Regions from separate parts of the Homo sapiens genome. Here all the other regions are linked to region 1. Evidence: promoter capture Hi-C in human tissues and cell types (Jung and others, 2019). All regions are on one chromosome and are shown on one strand. Each heading gives the region's core, a stretch centred on a gene start or on the middle of the fragment in contact. The rest is flanking DNA. Distances are from core to core; before and after follow the strand shown. Region 1 holds the start of SHISA9 (shisa family member 9). Region 2 has its middle 330 kb from the start of ERCC4. Region 3 has its middle 370 kb from the start of ERCC4. Region 4 has its middle 440 kb from the start of ERCC4. Region 5 has its middle 420 kb from the start of ERCC4. Region 6 has its middle 500 kb from the start of ERCC4.

Evidence for each region. Contacts are between HindIII fragments. The study calls those that stand out against the background at their distance.
Region 2: a fragment that was not itself captured here is called in contact with the fragment with the promoter of SHISA9 in region 1 in 2 of the 25 tissues and cell types used here (lymphoblastoid cells and mesendoderm cells).
Region 3: a fragment that was not itself captured here is called in contact with the fragment with the promoter of SHISA9 in region 1 in 4 of the 25 tissues and cell types used here (dorsolateral prefrontal cortex, lymphoblastoid cells, mesendoderm cells and 1 more).
Region 4: a fragment that was not itself captured here is called in contact with the fragment with the promoter of SHISA9 in region 1 in 3 of the 25 tissues and cell types used here (hippocampus, lymphoblastoid cells and mesendoderm cells).
Region 5: a fragment that was not itself captured here is called in contact with the fragment with the promoter of SHISA9 in region 1 in 4 of the 25 tissues and cell types used here (H1 embryonic stem cells, dorsolateral prefrontal cortex, lymphoblastoid cells and 1 more).
Region 6: a contact is called between a fragment that was not itself captured here and the fragment with the promoter of SHISA9 in region 1, in 2 of the 25 tissues and cell types used here (lymphoblastoid cells and mesendoderm cells).

What each region holds. Positions count from the first base shown.
Region 1 is chr16:12,900,088-12,903,014 of GRCh38, forward strand. It overlaps SHISA9 (shisa family member 9), which reads left to right and starts at 1,511. Exons shown (of 5, transcript NM_001145204.3): 1 at 1,511-2,540. The coding sequence starts at 1,978. The HindIII fragment of the contact is 6,671 bases long and covers 1-2,927 here.
Region 2 is chr16:13,585,750-13,588,735 of GRCh38, forward strand. No RefSeq gene overlaps it. Among named protein-coding and RNA genes, the nearest start is that of ERCC4, 330 kb to the right of the region's middle. The HindIII fragment of the contact is 4,832 bases long and covers 1-2,986 here.
Region 3 is chr16:13,543,921-13,546,803 of GRCh38, forward strand. It overlaps a transcript of SHISA9 not described here. Among named protein-coding and RNA genes, the nearest start is that of ERCC4, 370 kb to the right of the region's middle. The HindIII fragment of the contact is 6,455 bases long and covers 1-2,883 here.
Region 4 is chr16:13,481,845-13,485,038 of GRCh38, forward strand. It overlaps a transcript of SHISA9 not described here. Among named protein-coding and RNA genes, the nearest start is that of ERCC4, 440 kb to the right of the region's middle. The HindIII fragment of the contact is 4,909 bases long and covers 1-3,194 here.
Region 5 is chr16:13,500,423-13,503,276 of GRCh38, forward strand. It overlaps a transcript of SHISA9 not described here. Among named protein-coding and RNA genes, the nearest start is that of ERCC4, 420 kb to the right of the region's middle. The HindIII fragment of the contact is 5,047 bases long and covers 1-2,854 here.
Region 6 is chr16:13,414,955-13,418,203 of GRCh38, forward strand. It overlaps a transcript of SHISA9 not described here. Among named protein-coding and RNA genes, the nearest start is that of ERCC4, 500 kb to the right of the region's middle. The HindIII fragment of the contact is 3,656 bases long and covers 1-3,249 here.

The sequences.
Region 1 (2,927 bases), core at 261-2,760:
TTGGAATATAATACTCCTGGGTATGCCCTGTCAATGTCTTGCTGTGTGTTTGCAAATCTTTTTTGAAACATCAAAATGTGACTTTTTTTTTCAAAGAGAAGGGGCGATTAGCCAAACTTCTCATTTGGAGAAAACTTGCAACAGAGTCCCAATAAATCCTCCCACCCTTTCTCAATTCAGGGGACCCTAGTAAACCATTTTACATGTCGCCCAACTTTTCGTTCTCTGAAGATGCCCTGAGAAGCCCTTGACTGCAGCCAAGTGGAGAGGAGGGTTGTGGAAACATTATCTCCTTGCAAATCGCCTAGCAGCCTGCAAAGTGTATACTTAGTTAATGCAATTAAAAAACAAAACGCCGGGGCGTGGGGAGATCTAAATTTGGTGTAGCAGCTTTGGTGCAAATCCTGTTTTGGGGCTACTGGAGTCAAATTCAAGCAGAGGAGAGAAAGAGGTGGGAGAAATGAGAGAGGGCCTCCGGGGAGCTGGAATTCGCTAGGAGAGAGAGGGCAGATTTGGAAACACAGAGGAGACGGGAGGCTGGAAGCTGAGGAAGCAAGGCAGAGCTCTGCAGCCCCCGGTGAGGATTTCCGGGGGGATCCGTGGGGACAGGGGCCAGCCAGCTCCAGAGACCGATGCGCGGGCTCCAGGTCCGGGAGGGTGGCTGAGGCTGGGTGCCCAGGCCTTGCGCTGCGCCAGATCCGGGAGCGCAGAGGCGGCGCCGCGGTGTTCCCTCCTGTGGAGCGCAGAAAACGCTGCGGGGGCGAAGAGGGACAGAAAGCGGCAGGTTCGAGAGGCTGGGGGACTTCCAAGGAAAGACCTTCCAGGACACGCCATAGCCTCGGCCTTGTTCGGCTGTCCCCTCTTACCCCCGACCTTCTTTGATTCGTTCATCCCGAGCCCCTCTCCCCCGGAGGGTGCTTATCCCTGGCTCAGGGGCTTGCCACCTGTCCTTCCCAGCTCCGCCTGGGTCCTTGCTTGGGCCCAGAGAGTTGAGCCATGCGGGTTGCGCTCAGGGCTGGAGGGCGCAGCCGGGAAGGGCAAGGAGGCCCCGCACGCCTGGGAGGGGCGATCCTGACCAGACTGCACCCAGTCTGTCTTGGAGTGAAAGCCATTTAGTCTGTCCCCATCCTCTCCGAGTCATCCTTCCCCTGATGCACAGATTTCGGCCGCCGCTCCTGCACACGCACCGGTGAAAAAGCTACGAGCTGAGCCGCCTCTGCGCTCTGGACAGGGCTGAGCCGCGCCTCCTACCCAGAGAGGGCGCGGGAGGTCCTGCCGCGGTTTTCCACCTGCCTGGAAATCCGAGCGGCTCCTCTAGCCTCGGCTGCTGCCGAGCTCGCTCCTCCCCGTCCGCTCGCCTGGCTCAGCTCTGCACGCCCCCCAGCTAGCTCCCGCTCTAGTCACCTCTTCCCCGCGCCCCCGCCCCTCTAGAGCTCGCGCCCGCCCCCCCCCACCCGCGCCTCCTCTGCCCGCCCTCCTCCCCCTCCCCCTTCCCTCCTGCCCTCCCTTCATTCCACAAGTGTCGCTTCGCTCTCTTCAGCGCACTTGGCGAGCTGGTGAGGTGAGAGGGATACTGCGAGAGGGCTAGGGGCGGCCAGTCCGGGGCTGCCGGCCAAGGCTAGGCGCTGCCAGCCCGATTCTCCTCTGCTCTCCACCCCCGCCTCACCCAGTGGCCGGCCGGACCTGCACCCCGCGCTTGACCCCGCTCATCCTCCCCCCGCCCGGCCGGGCGCGCTCCTCCCCGGCCGGCCCCTCGGCGCGCGGCGCGCTGGAGGCGAACGCGGGCTGAGGCGAACGCGGGCTGAGCCGAGCGCAGTGGCCGCCGACCACCGAGCGCCCCGCGCCGCTCCCTGCATGTGCGGCCCGCGGCGGCTCGCAGCTCCCGGCAGCAGCCTCGGCAGCTTCGGCCGCGCCTCGAGAGGCGGCCGCAGAGGCTCCAGCGGCGGCCGAGCGGCCGAGCCCGGGCTGGGAGACACCATGCGCCGCGTCCTTCGGCTGCTCCTCGGTTGCTTCCTCACCGAGCTGTGCGCCCGCGTGTGCCGGGCGCAGGAGCGAGCGGGACACGGGCAGCTGGCGCAACTGGGCGGCGTGTTGCTGCTGGCGGGGGGCAACCGCTCCGGGGCCGCCTCCGGAGAGGCCAGCGAGGGCGCTGAGGCATCGGACGCGCCCCCGACCCGGGCGCCCACGCCGGACTTCTGCCGGGGCTACTTCGATGTCATGGGCCAGTGGGACCCGCCGTTCAACTGCAGCTCGGGCGACTTCATCTTCTGCTGCGGGACTTGTGGCTTCCGGTTCTGCTGCACGTTTAAGAAGCGGCGACTGAACCAAAGCACCTGCACCAACTACGACACGCCGCTCTGGCTCAACACCGGCAAGCCCCCCGCCCGCAAGGACGACCCCTTGCACGACCCCACCAAGGACAAGACCAACCTGATCGTCTACATCATCTGCGGGGTGGTGGCCGTCATGGTGCTCGTGGGCATCTTCACCAAGCTGGGGCTGGAGAAAGCGCACCGGCCCCAAAGGGAGCACATGTCCAGGTGGGCTGCCTCCCCTTCGCCCTCCCCTCGGGGCTTCGCTCTCCCTGCTCTCTCCTCCCCACCTTCCCCCAGGCAATGGCGCTCCCCACGGTCCCCGCTCCCCGCATCCCAGCCTCTCCGCTGGGGGATGTCACCGGGAAGCCAACTTCGGCTTGGAACACGGAGAAGGGGCGCTGGGCTCAGCACAGGTGTGGGTCTGAGCGTGTTCGTGTGTGTGTGAGCGTGTGTGTGTGTGTGTGTGACTCTGCTCCCTCACCCTCTGGCCGCCTCCTCCCGCTGGTGACTGAGGCGGACTTGAGACACGTAGCCTGGGAGCCCGTGGCCCCGAAATCTTCGGGTTTGGGGAGAGGGTCCATGGCACCCCTCGGATTCCAGGTGCTAGCTTTT
Region 2 (2,986 bases), core at 1-2,500, 690 kb after region 1:
TTGTACCCAGTAGGTAATTTTTCAACCCTCACCAACTCCTACTCTCCCACTTTTGGAGCCCCCAGGGTCTATTATTTCTGTCTTTGTGTCCACGGGTGTCCCTTGTTTAGCTTCCACTTATAAGAGAGAACATGCAGTATTTGATGTGCTATTTGTGAGTTATTTCACTAAGGACATTGCAGGCAGAGGAAAGAGCATACACACCTGCCTCTCCTGCCTCCACCAATGTCCATGTGGTTTCTCTGAAGCCCAGATCTGACCATGTCACCCTTAGTAGCTTTCTGGGATTCTCTGCCACTCAGTTAATGAGGTCCATTTCTTTATCCTAGCAAGTTTCCAAATTGAGCTTTAATCTAGGTCCCCATCTTATTCCCAATTCCCTGACTCTCTCCCCAATGTACCTGCCACTCCAACACTTCTAACCTTACCCTATTTCAAACATACTACTCTCTGTCATATTTATGCACCTTTTGTTAATTTTCTATTTTATTTTTTATTTTAGATTATTTTATTTTGTTCTTATATTTTATTTTAATTTTATATTATTTTATTTTTATTTTAGATTGATGGGTGTACAAGTGCAGGTTTGTTACGTGGGTATACTGCATAATGGTGAGGTTTGGATTTCTATTGAAACCATCACACAAATAGTACACATTGTGCCCAGTAGGTAATTTTTCAACCCTTGCCAACTCCCACCCTCCCCACTTTTGGAGTCCTCAGTGTCTGTTATTTTCATCTTTGTATCCATGTGTACTCATTATTTAGCTTCCCCTTATAAGTCAGAACATGTAGTATTTGATTTGCTGTTTCTGAGTTATTTTACTTAGGATAAAGGACATGCCAAGCAGAGGAAAGCACATATGCAAAAGGTGCATAACCTTCGCCCACTTTTATGGGCTGGGAATGTCCCTCCCTTCTTTCCTCTCTGGGGAATACTAAGTCATCATCCAAAGCCCCAAAGGCACATCCCCTGTAAGGCCTTATTTGACTGTCCAAGAAGAAGCTCATCCCTCTTTCTCTGGCTCCCATAGCACTTTTCCCAAATACTTCCAGGGCACCTCAATTTTGCACCATACTTACATTCAGGTTTTTTGTTTTGTTCTGTTTTGTTTTTGAGACAGAGTCTTGCTCTAGCCATGTAATTAAGCTTGTACTGTTCAACAATAAACATGGTATTTCATATTACTCAAGGTTGTTCATTGTAAATTAAATGTTCATTGGAAACTAAAATATCATTTTGCGTGTGACAAATTGAGCTCTCTTTCTTGCATTGATGGCCTGTGAGTTGGATCTAGCCTGAGTATATTTTATTTGGCCCACATACTGTTTTACAAATTATGTTTCAGAGTTTCAAAACTCTAAACAAAAATCTAAAAATCATGAATATTTACATTTTTAAAAGCACATTTTAAAATCATATATTTTTTTTAATTCTGAAAAAGTAGATCTAGCAATGCAGAGTATCCATTCCTGAGAAACTGCTGAGTATTTTCCAGTTTTGCCTAGCCATACTTATTTATTCTGTTTCCTTCCTGGCCCCTCCAGGTATTTTAGTTTGCAACTCCTTGTTTAGTTTAACAAGTCAATCACAAAGGAATCAACCATGAAATTGAAGATGTAGTCACCCAAGAGCATATTTTAATTTAAATTTAACATTAGCCAATGCTTCAGGCTAATGATGAACTAGCTGTTCCAACAAAACACACACACATAAACACACACACACACACACACACATACCATGGCTTCAGAATGAGTTCTATTAATTCAACCAAACAAATACGTACTGAGTACCTACTATGTGTCAGAAACAATGTCAGGTGTTTTGATGACAACATCAACTTAATCCTTGCTCTCAAAAAGCCCAGGGACAAGTAGAGCAAATATACAACTGAATAGAAAATTGCAATGCAATGAAATAATCCATAGGTTAATGAGTGTATTACAGAAATTTTGATATGAAGTTTGTTCCCCCAGTTTTTAAAATGTGCAGAATCAATCTAGGAAGCAAAGGTGCATGGAATAAAAGCTTACAACTGCCTTTCTCTTTGGGTTTGAAGAAGTCTTTACAGATCTGGAGGAGATCTGTAAGTGACTCACTTAAGGTCAATGGTTGACATTATGTGCAGACCTAGAACTCAAGAACTGGGCAGGTGTCTTGTCTTTTGTTTGTTTGTTTTTGGCAGGACAGATACTAATTCCCTCCTACTGACTTGAAAAGTGGATTGCCCCTTTGCTGAAAAATTTAGAAAACATTATTAGGACATAGTTAGCTTCAGGCCACTCCTTTATAATATCTCTTGATTTATCTGAGATCATTATGATGGCAAAACGTGGACTGAAAGATATTTGTCTTGTGGGCCTTCATCTAGAACATCTGCCTGAGTAATGATAATTTGTGTTCTTGGGGGTCAGCCTGGAAGTGAGTCTTTAGTGTGATGCCACAGGATCATTATATCAATTAAGGGCTTGGTGGAGGCTCTAGTGGTCATGCTGATCCAATCTGTATTTGACAAAATTCGGAATGGAACAGCTAATATTCAAAATGAAGGAATCTAATTCAGAAAGATCTCACTAGACTGAAACATTGGGCACAAGCCAAAAGATGAGCATTAACCAGGATAAATATTACCTTTTTAAAAATCAATTGCTCAAGTAGAGAATGGAGAAGATCTGGCTTGGCTGTGGTTCCCATGAGAAAGACCTGGGATGTGTTGGAGGCTTGTGCGAGCCAAAAGCAATACAATGCCATAAAAAGACACCAATAGAGAAAACTCTTTCAGTTAATAAATGAGAGAAATCCAAATCAAATTGATTAAAGTAATATGGAGAACTTATTGGATCATATACCTAAAAAGACCAGTAGTGAACTCTAAATATTAGTCATGTTTTAATATGTATCAACCAACCTCCAAATCTCAGTGGCTCTCAAGAACAAACATTTGGGTCCATGGGGCACCTTGGCTTGGCTGGACCAAGCTGG
Region 3 (2,883 bases), core at 161-2,660, 640 kb after region 1:
TCAGAGAATTGCAGGGCTAGGCTTAAAATGTTCTGGCTCCTTGTGCAGCTGAACAAATAGAAACCCAGAAGGGGAAGTCACGTGCCTAAAATTTTACAGGGAGGAAGTAGCAACCCCATGGACATGAAAGTGTTAAGTGTAAAGGGTATGACATTTAGAGGGAGGCAGTCTCCATTGCAAATTCTGGCTTAACACTTAACACCTCTTTGAGTATCTGCTAAGTACTTACTACCTGACTAAGAATATTATCTTATTTAACTCAATCAATAGCATGAGGCAGTATTAAATATACATAATACTATATATCTTATCTATATATCTAGATATATTATATATAATATATGTATCTTTATCTATATATCTTATAGATAAGGAAACCTTAGCCTCAGAAGGGTAAAGTACCAGTTAATTCATGGTACAACCAGAATTTGAACCCCATTCTGACAGACTCCAAAGCTCTTGCTCTTAGTTTTTCGGTTTTTTGTTTTTTCGGGTTTTTTTTTTTCTTGTTTTTTTTTTTTTTTTTTCCCCGCTGGATGTTGTATTTCCACTTTGCACGGACATGACTCTTGAAGTTTTCAGGGAGATTGCACAGCTGAGAAGCCAGAAGCAACCTTGGCTGATAAATTACTATCCTGGCTGGGATTTCCCTCACCAATTGCTAAGCAAAAGGAACACATAAATTTTGGAGCAACCACCTTTTTAGGTGTGAGTTTGGAGCCTTGTAGAATAGAAGACTGGGCCAGGTGCAGTGTCTCACACCTGTAATCCCAGCACTTTGGGAGGCCGAGGTGGGCAGATCACTTGAGGTCAGGAGCTCGAGACCAGCCTGGCCAACATGGTGAAACCCTGTCTTTACTAAAAATACAAAAATTCGCTGGGCGTGGTGGGGCGAGCCTGTAATCCCAGCTACTCAGGAGGCTGAGGCAGGAGAATCACTTAAATGCAGGAGGTGGAGGTTGCAGTGTCCTGAGATCATGCCACTGCACTGCAGCCTGGGTGACAGAGTGAGACTCCGTCAAAAAAAAACAATAGAAGACTGATAGTGTCAACAGTTTAGCATTGATCTGGTGACATCATGATCATCATCCTTATTTTCCTCATCATCACAATAACATCAGAACCACTATTTGTTAAAGGCCTAGCAAATATCAAATCTTATGCCATGTGCCTTGCATGTACTTTCCAACTTCATCCTCACAATAATGCTGTAATACAGATGACACCTACCCAGTTTTTACCATTGAGAAAAGAAAGATCCAAAGAAGCCGAATAATTTGTCCAAGATCGCACACTGGTGAAGTGGTACAGCTAGAATTCTATTCAAGGTCTTTTTGAATCCACAGCACTGCCAGTTTCACCAAATGGTCTGATTGTTAAGAACCAGGATAAGTTTCCCTTTAAACAAGATCAAAAAAAGCAGACGGAAATGCCAGCATCCAATTAAATAAGAATCCTGCATGGATGATCAAGGAGAGATGAGTGGAGGGACACATATGTCTTTGAGCCAGTGAGCTAAAACAAGTGGGGGCTTCCTACAAGGGAGTCTATGGATTTGGCTGTTGCCCCTGGCAACAGACACAGGCAATTGGTTGAATAGCCCCTCCACCCCTGAGCATGGGAAAGGCTGGTCTTGGAAGCAGCCATTGTTTCAAACATTGCTTCTGCTTGAGGTCTTGCTGCTTGTGAAATAGTTCCCTCTCTCTTCCTGAACATTCCACCTGTTGCGTCCCCTGGCAGGAGCCAGCAGCTTAGCAAAGATGAATCTTCTCTCACGCCATGGCCTGTCACATGGACATCTGGAGTTCTGACCTGCTCAGGATCCTCTCCCTCTTCTTTTGTATCAGAACTCTCCATGATGGCACCACACCGGTCCCGATCCGCTTCTACTATCACACGGTGTAAAGTCTGGCCAATCAGAGCAGCTCATTCAATGGGCCACAATGATTGGTTCAGGGAGAAACATGTGACATAAGCTGGGCCAGTTAGATTCCTTCCTGGGACTTTTAATTTGGATTTGAGAGAGGGATGATTTCTTGCCAAACTGGTAGGACGTAAATTTGGGGCTGCCAGTGACCATCTTGCCTGTCGTGTGGATGGCACCTGAATTAACAATGTAGGAAGGGGGCCCAGAGAACACTAGGCTCACTAATTCAGCCCTCTTGCCTAGAGCCAGACTTGTCTTTGGAGATGTCTTTGTCCTATAAGAAAGGAAATCAGTAATCAGAAAAAGGAGTTAGAAATGTGCAACCCTGTCCAACTTTCTACAAAATTCCTCAGTGCTACAACTTTAGTCCAAGCAACCACCATCTCTTACCCAGAAAAGAAGATTATTGTTCTCCCTGCTTCTTCCCACCCTTCCATTTCATTTTCCTCAGCCTACAGAGTGACAATTTTTAAAAATGCAAATCAGTTTTGCATGTTAGTATCATCTTATTTCATACTGAAGAATTCCCATTAGCATTTCTTGGAAGGCAAGTGTAAGGGTGATGAATTCCCTCAGCTTGTGTTTGTCTGGGAAAGAATTTATCTCTCATATTTGAAGAAGAAAAGCTTTGCTGAGTGCAGTATTCTCATCAGTAGTAAGTCATTACCTATCAATAGTAACATTAAATGTATACAGACTAAATTCTCCAATTGAAAGACGTAAAGTAGCTAAATGGATAACAACGTGAATCAGATTATAAGATTTCCTGATGCCCTGAAGATTAGTAAAAGTCCTTTCTACTGCCTATGAAGCCCTACATCAGAGGTCTGCAAACTGACCTGTGGGCCAAATCCAGCCCAATTCCTGTTTTTGTAAAGACAGTTTTATTGGCACAAAACCATATTCACCCATTTTTACATGTTCATGGCTGCTTTCTCTGTCAATAGAAGATTTGA
Region 4 (3,194 bases), core at 290-2,789, 580 kb after region 1:
AAATTGAAGTGGAAATGAATCACAAGATGGTAGATATCTCATTAAGAGAGATCTCATTAAGAGAACTCATACATACTTTGATTGAATAATCAGGGCCAATGTTTTCTGAACACTTATTACATGCCAACCACTGACACAGCACTCTTTACATGCATTCCTTCCTCCATTGGGTACTTGAGCTGAATGTCTTCCACTGGCCCTTCCAGATCCGCATCTGTGCTTTTTCCATCCCTGCCCTGGTGCTGGAATGCTAACCTGTAGAGACTGACTAGGTCCTCTTGCTCTCCAGCTTCTAGATGGATTCAACCATTGGGAGGCATCAGCAGAAGTCAGAGAAGAGGGTAAAATGCAGTCCGGCTATTTAGTCTGTTGGCTGTTTCCCTGCCAAGTCACCATGGGTGATTTAACTGTATCTACTGAAGACCACAGTGCCTGTCTTGCAGCCTTCTCCATACAATTACCTTTTCTGGATGCCAGTAACCACCTCTTCCTCTTGCCCTTGCAGGCTTAGAGACGTATCAGCTGCCTTCTGTTATTACCCCAGCGGTATTCACCATGCCATGTGGGTTTCCTTAAATCCTGTCACCCTTTTCTCATAACAACAGTTATGTCATTAATAGCTCCATTTTAAAGAGAGGACACTAAGTCTTAAAGAGATTAAGAGACACTTCGAGGCCAGGTGTGGTGGCTCATGCCTGTAATCCTAGCACTTTGGGAGGCTGAGGCAGGAGGATCACTGGAGCCCAGGAGTTCAAGACCAGCCTGAGCAACATGGCAAGACCCCATCTCTACAGAAAAGTAAAAAATTTAGCTTGGCGTGGTGGCACATGCCTGTAGTCCCAGCTACTCAGAAGGCTGAGGCAGGAGAACCACTTGTGCCCAGGAAGTCAAGGCTGCAATGAGCCCTTTTCATGCCACTGCATTCCAGCCTTGGCAACAGAGCAAGATCCTGTCACTAAAAAAAAAAAAAAAAGAGAGAGAGAGACGTGTCCAAGGTCACCGAGTCAGTAGGAGCAGATCCTCCAACCTAGATCTGTCTAACTCTACTGCTAATGCTTCCCTTCTGTGATATTTAAGGTGAGAGTGTGGCTGGTGCCCCAAGGCTGAGATGTAACTCGGAGAAAAACTAACTGGAGCAATGTTTACTGGGAGCCAAGAGCAGAATTCTCATTTCAGACCTCCGCTTCCACAGATGGGCACTTAGAGTTTGGCTCTGAGGGGTGGTGGTGGTTCACAGAGAGTTCAAACCCCATCACAGACACATGTGGGTGAATAAAGTGTCAGGGTCTTTGCTTTTTCCAAGTGCCTGATACAGGCTTGCAGATGCGTGGGGGTGTGAACAAGAGAGCCTCAAGTGGATTTCACTCTTGGATGTAGCCTATAAATATGTATGTTGGGCACCATGAATCATTTAGGGCTGGATTGGTTGCAGTTTTTCATTTTTTAAGGGATGGTTTCATGACTCAGAGATACTGGCATGCACCCCCAAGGTCAGAGTGGATCCGAACACTTTACAGAAATTGGAAGGAAACAAAATATTTGCTGCCTAGCTTTATTCTGAGAACTTTTTCTAAGTTTAAAAACATACAAGGGAGCAGAGAACGGGTCACAAATGAGCTTCATTCAGGGTTGTGGTGTTTTGATATATATATTTTACTGGATTTTGACCACAATCCATGGCTCATAGCTTCCATAGCCTTTTTCCAGTCTTTTATTAGAATGTCAGGTGTGCCAGGCCTCAGGAAACAGAAGCTCGCTGACTTTCCCCAGCCCTCCTCTCCCTCTAATCCTTCCCCGGTCTTTCTGATTGTGGGTCTTAAGACCACCCATCCCCAGAGAGAGTCCTGCTTTATATCCTGGCGAAAGGAATGTTGAGGTCATGAATCTTCCCTAAAAACACAAGAGAACTGGGTCCAGAGATCTTCTGGATAACTGAACATGTAGAGGTTTCTGAAGGGTGGTCCCCAGGGAGAGCATGGAAGCTCTGTGTCCCTTCTCCCATACCTCACCCTACACATCTCTTCATTTGGATCCTTTGCAATATCTTTTACAATAAACTGATAAATGCATTTCCCTGAGTTCTGTGAGATGCTCCAGTAAATTAGTTAGATTCAAGGAGGGATTCTTGGGAACCCCAGTTTGAAGCCAGTCAGAAATTTCAGAGGCCTGGGCTCACGACTGGTGTCTGGGGTAGGGGTGAGGGGGCAGTCTTGGTAACTGAGCCGTCAATCAGTGGCATCTGATGCTATCTCCAGGCAGATAGTGTAAGAATCAAATTAGAGGACACCCAGCTGGTATTCCCTGCTTGGCGTGTGGAGGAAAAAAACCCATATATTTGGTCACAGAAGCCTTCCATGTTGATGATTGTTGTTGTGGTAGTGTGAGACTAGAGGAGAAACATAGTTTGAGAGTTTTTCCGAAACAAGTGTGATAAAAGCTTTGGAAATTGTATAGCTTTTATAATTTTTTTCACCCCTTGTACAATTGTAACTTCACCTCTCCGAGCCTCGGTTCCCACATCAGCACAATGGGCATAAGAGCTCAATGAGATGTGTGCCTCTACAGCACCAGTACAGGACATGGACTTCACATGCATAACTGGTGGTCTTCCTCCTCTTCCTCTCAAGTAGCTCCAACTCACAGCCAAATCTGAGTGCCTAGCATGCTTCCAGCCAGCCCTCAGAAATTAGCAGTTGTTAATTGGTGAATGTTGCCTCTCTGGCTGTATAGTAAGTGTATTAGTCCGTTCTCACATTGCTGTAAAAAACTACCTGAGACTGGGTAATTTATAAAGAAAAGAGATTTAATTGGCTCACAGTGTGGCAGGTTGTACAGGAAGCATGGTTGGGGAGGCCTCAGAAAACTTACAATCATGGTGGAAGGTGAAGAGGAAGGAGACAGCTCTTACATGGCTGGATGAGCAGGAAGCGTGGGGAAGAGTTGCTATACACTTTTAAACAACCAGATCTCCGGAGAACTCACCTGCTATCACAAGAACAGCAGCAAGGGGGACGTCCACTCCCATGATCCAATCACCTCCCACCAGGTTTCTCCTCCAACACTGGGGCCTATAATTCGACATGAGATTTGGGCAGGGACACAGAGGCAGACCATATCAGTAAGCTCCTGCATGGTATGTGTATCAGTCAAGTGATGCTGCAGTAACAACACTAAGCCTCTTGTTCTTTTTTTTT
Region 5 (2,854 bases), core at 125-2,624, 600 kb after region 1:
CACAGCCCCATGGGGAATATAGAAGAACCAGCGTAAAGTTTCTGCAGTATTAATGGAAGGAAATAGCAGTTAATCTGGGTCTTGTAGGATGATGGGCCAGGTGAATGGTAGGATTTTCCAGGCACAGCAATGGAAGTGAGAGAAAGAGAAATAGAGAGAGAAGGAAAAAGACAGAGTGGAGTGTGGGGGGAGGCAGAGGGAGAGGGAGAGAAGGAGGGGCAGGGGGTTGGGGGAGAGAGAGACCAGAGACAAAAAGACAGGGATTATGTAACTACTGGTGTCTTAAATAATTGTAAACCATGTAGGAGGATGTACCAGTTAGTTATTCTTTGGCCATAAATCATAGAAACTGACTCTAACTAACTAAGGGAGAAAGGAAGCTTATTGGATTAATATAGGGCAGCTCTAAGAAGCACCAAGACATATGAACTAGAACTCCCAATGTGCAGTTTCAGGAAGCTTTAGGTAACTAAATTCCTCTGGAAGTTGCAGGAGGATGGATCACCTGTTTTCAATCCAATGTTTTACCCAAGAATAAATTCCAGAGAGGGAGCACTATAGGAGCCTAATGTCAGTCACGCAGCCACCCCTTGGCTGGAGGACGGGTGCACTTTCATTGACAGTAGAGAGTGCTCAACAAGGACAGGATAACCTTCCCAATGCCAAACCCCATACTCTTAACCTAGAACTGTAGTTTTCAACCAAGGGTGCATTTGCCTCCCAGGAAACATTTGGGAATTTCTGCAGACATTTTTGCTTGTCACAAATTGAGGGTAGGGGGAAGTGCAACTGGCATCTAGTGGGAAGAGGAAAGGAGACTGCAAACATTCTACAATACTCAGGACACCCCCTACGACAAAGAATTACTTAGTCCTGAGGTTGAAAAACTCTGATCTAGAGGTGAACATATGTGTGAAAACAGAAACTACAAAAGTCATTTAGGAAAGAGAGAAAAAGGGAGGATGGAGCCATGAAAGGAGTATAAGAAAGATAAACTTTATGCCAAGGGCAGTGGGAGGGTCTTTGAAAGGCATTTAAGCCAGAAAGAGGTGTGATATATTCATGGCAAGCATGAGCATGTCAGTACATATGACAGCACCCTCTTCACCAATTTTACAGCAATATTCTCCATTTGTAATTACATACTTTTAACATTTTTGTTTGTCTTTTCATGGCCGGCCACACATCAGTAATCTTCATTAGGGACAGAACCACATCTGCTTTATTTACTATTGTATGCTTGTGCCTAGAATGGTGCCCGGCACATAAAAGAGGCTCAATAAATATTTGCTGAAAGAGGGCGGGCACGGTGGCTCAAGCCTATAATCCCAGCACTTTGGGAGGCGAGGAGGGTGGATCACCTGAGGTCAGGAGTTGGAGACCAGCCTGACCAATGTGGTGAAACCCCGTCTCTACTAAAAATACAAAAATTAGCTGGGCATGGTGGCACATGCTTGTAATCCCAGCTATTCTGGAGGCTGAGGCAGGAGAATCACTTGAACCCAGGAGGTGGAGGTTGCAGTGAGCCGAGATCGCACCATTGCACTGCAGCCTGGGCAACAAAGCGAAACTCCGTATCAAAAAAAAAAAAATTGCTGAAAGAATGAACAAATAAATGAACAGATGGATGAATGGAAGGATGGAAGGATGGATATATAGATAAATGAATGGGTGGATGAAATAAAGGAATATATTTTAAAATACTTTGTATATCAGAGAGTATAATATTTTTAGGTCATATTTGTAAAGATTGCCTACATAGCTGTCAGATTCCCACCTACAAAATAAACCAAAGCAAGCATTTGGAGAAAAAGAAAGGAATCAAGATGATTCACACCCATGATATCTGCATTTTACAAGTTCTGGCTGAGTACATATCATGCAGGATCCCACACTAACATCTGTCTAATGTGCAAAGGGAGGAAAATGTCCACGTGCCAGACGTAGCCTTCACCTAGGAAGGCAGAGATACAGCACTAGAATAACTTTAAGGCAACCTATTAACAGAGGCTGGAATGCATGGCATACCAATCATTTATTTATTCAACAAATATATTTATTGTATACCTACCATGCGTCTGGGCACAGTACTAGATACAAAATATCCATTGTTTAAAAAGGCAGACCTGGTCTTTACCATTGCGGTATTTAAAATGCATTAGGAAAGACAGGCCGGGCGCGGTGGCTCACACCTGTAATCCCAACACTTTGGGAGGCCGAGGCAGATGGATCATTTGAGGTCAAAAGCTCGAGACCAGCCTGGCCAACATGGTGAAACCCCATCTCTACTAAAAATACAAAACAATTAGCCAGGCGTGGTGGCATGCACCTGTAATCCCAGCTACTCGGGAGGCTGAGACACAAGAATTGCTTGAACCCAGAAGGCAGAGGTTGTAGTGAGCTAAGATCACGCCACCACACTCCAGCCTGGGTGACAGAGTGAGACCTGTCTCGAAAAAAATAAGTAAATAAAAAATAAAATAAAATAAATCTACTGGGAAAGACAGATAATGAGTCAACAGAGAAATATGCAATTGCAAATTATAACAGTGGTAGTAATAAAACAATCAGAATATAGTGATAAATTAAAAAACACAGTTTGGTGGCTGACTTAACAGGGACGACATGGCAGTTCTCAAAGGGAAGGATATTTAAGCCAGAAGGATGAATAAAAACCTGCCATGCTAAGAATAAAGAAAATAATGTCTCAGGTAGTTGGAATGATAAAGCAAAAGTCTTGAATCAGGAAAAGGTTGATGTGTTTAAGAATCTCTAAGGAGCCTAGTTTGCTGGGAGCATAGTGAGTAATATGGAAAATGGCATGACACTAGTATAGCGATATAGACAGTGCTCA
Region 6 (3,249 bases), core at 471-2,970, 520 kb after region 1:
AAAAGGACAGCAATGTACAGAAAATGGAAGTGAAGTACAGAAACAACTGGATTGGCTATAGCTCACTGTTTGCCTTATTTGAACACAATTCGAACTGTTGGATACATCTGATTGGCCAAAACTCAGGATTGCCACAGGTATGGGCTACAATCGATTTACACCTCCACTTGTTATAGTTCATGATGTACAGAAAAACCTTTAGGCTGAACTTAAATATGTAAGGAGGCAGCTTTAGGCTAAACTTGATTTAACACTGGATGAAGAAAATGTGGTACATATACACCGTGGAATACTATGCAGCTATAAAAAAGAATATCGTGTGCTTTGCAGAAACATGGATGGAGCTGGAGGCCATGATCCTTAGCAAACTAACACAGGGACAAAAAACCAAATACCACATGTTCTCACTTTTAAGTGGGAGCTAAATGATGAGAACACATGGACACATGGAGGGGAACAGCACACACTGGGCCTTATTGGAGGGAGGAAGGTGGGAGGAGGGAGAAGATCAGGAAAAATAAGTAATAGGGGTATTAGACTTAATACCTGGGTGATGAAATAATCTGTACAACAAACTCCCATTACATAAGTTTACCTATATAACCAACCTGCACACATACTCCTGAACTTAAAGGTTAAATACGAATAAAATAAAACCTAAATCACATGACAAAAAGGAATGAAATGATGTGGAGCTCTGTTTATGAGCCTAAGATTGTGCTAATATCTAGAAAACAGAATGGATTATCCAGAAAGATTTGGATAGCTATGGATATGATTATTTTACTGAATTATTTCACTAATATACAAATCTAAAGATTTGATTTAATTGAAAATCCAGTAACCTAACCTTCTTTCGTTAAAAAAAAAAAAGTCACTTTGATTTGCTTACAAGAGTAAATATTGTATGAAACGAAAAAAAGAGTACATACTGGAAGATTATATTTATATGAAATTCAAAAACAGGTAAAAACTAATCTTTGGTGTTAGATGTCAGAATAGCAGTTACCCTTGGGAAGTAGTGACTAGAACAGGAGATAAGTGAGGTGCTTTCGTGGCATTGGTGATGCTCTTTTACTTGTTCTGGGCCAGGATATATGACTGTGATTGGTTTGTGAAAATTCACCAAGCTATACTCATAACCTATGCACCGTTCTGTAGGTATATTCTACATGAAAAAAAACCTCAAAAAGTAAAAAATAAAATTCACACAAAGTTAAGAAACAAGCTAGCTGAAGGCTTATAGAAAGAGTTATAAATGATAACAGTAGTAGGTGACATTTACCATTGGCTTACTTAGAACCTGGTAAGTTTATGCAGTAATTAATTTAATTCCTTCAACATCACAAAGTATACACAATTGTTACCCCATTCTTAGAAGGGAAACAAGGCTCAAAATCTTAATTATCTTACCCCTGACCATATAACACATAAGCACTAGAGTACATATTCAAACAGGAGCAGCCCACCTCCAGTTTAACCATCATATGTCATTTTAACCATCATATGACACCAGTTCTCCAACACTGGGAGGATGTGAGACACCCAAGGGTACTTAGATTCACAAGTTTATTCCTGTGGAAACCACTTAGAAACCCAAGAAATTGGTTAGCCAGGCACAATGGGGCCCACCTGTAGTCCTAGCTACTTGAGAAGCTAAGGCAGGAGGATTGCTTGAATCCAGGAGTTCGAGGCTGCACTGAGCGATGGTAACACCACTGCACTCCAGCCTGGGTGACCTTGTCTCTGAAAAAGAAGAAAGAGAAAGAAAGGAAGAAAGAAAGAAAGAAAGGAAGGAAGGAAGGAAGGAAGGAAGGAAGGGAAGGAAGGAAGGAAGGGAAGGAAGGAAGGAAGGAAGGGAAGGAATGAAGGAAGGAAGAGAAAGAAAGAAAGAGAGGGAAGAAGGGAGGGAGGGAAATGAAGGAAGAAGGAAGAGCAAGAAAGAAAGAAAGGCAGAGAAAGAAAAAGGAAGAAATAATAAAACCTAAGAAATTTGAATAAATTTCTTAAAATTACCTCTGGAAGAAAACAAAATGTTTAAATAAAAACTCAGTGTTCACTGAGATGGAGAAAGTCTGTTTATAACAATTTAAGGAGCCACACAGAAAATCACAAGGGCTATAACTTCCTGCTTGCCGAAGGCACCTTTTGGATGAATTGCTGCTTATATCACTGCATGGCAACTGGAGAAGACGTGGATTGATGCAGTCGTTCTCAGGAAGTTAGAGGACTATTAACATCAGCACGGGATTCATGATGATGTGTTGAAGGGTGGTTGGCACCCGCAAAAGGAAAGGTGATATGTTTCATATTTTATGATATGTTTTGTCACTCGAGGGAATTTAGAAGTGGAGGCACTTGATAGTGAAAATGGAAGCCAACTTTCTCTTTTTGTCACTTGCGTTATTTGGGATGTTTTGAGTTGGAAAAAAAAAAATAAGCAGAGACTGAATCTGTCCACTAAAGGAGAAGGGAGAACTGGGTTGGAGCCAAGAAATGGGCAGAGTGAGAAGCAAGGCTGGGAACCAGATATTTGCTCAGTTTATTTGCTTCCTCTCTCTTGTTAGCTATTGAGTTTTCATTACAGTGTACTCACTTCTTTCTTCAAGTCTTCACTGTCAGTGTCTTGCAAACTGCTGAACACCACTGGATCCCTCATTCCTAAAGCAGAAGTGGCTTGACTGAATGTCATCGTAGTGGGAATCACACACATTGGGCAGACCCCACCATTGGAGGCTACCTCAGCAGATATCGTCTGCAAAGACAGCCTGTGCCTGGATGATGAGATCTATCCCTGCTCAAGGAACAGCTCACTGTAGCTTCCCTAAGTGGAGACAATGGGCAGGTTAATGCCAACGGGCAGAGAAGAAGGGCATGGTGGTGACCCTATCAACATGCTCGAATGCTGGCATCAAACAGAGGATGCTTGAAGCTTTGGTGTGGTGAAGCTGGTGGAACTTTTTGAAATCTCTTGGGAAGGTTTATGCCAATGATACCCTACCTAAACCCCATCTCACATTTTCTTGGTTGAAACCATGAGCCTATTTTCTTCTTCCCTCCTTTTCTTCTTTAAATCCTTCCTTTATTACTTCCTTTGCTCCTTCATTCAACAGACACCTGTCATGTTTTGGAGGGGAGGCCTAGCCTGAAAGAAGCTAGATTATGTTTATCTCTGAGAATATGACTTGTGTAGGCATCTCAGGTTTGTCAGTACAGTGGTTGACCTACATGTATTTATTAGCAGGATCT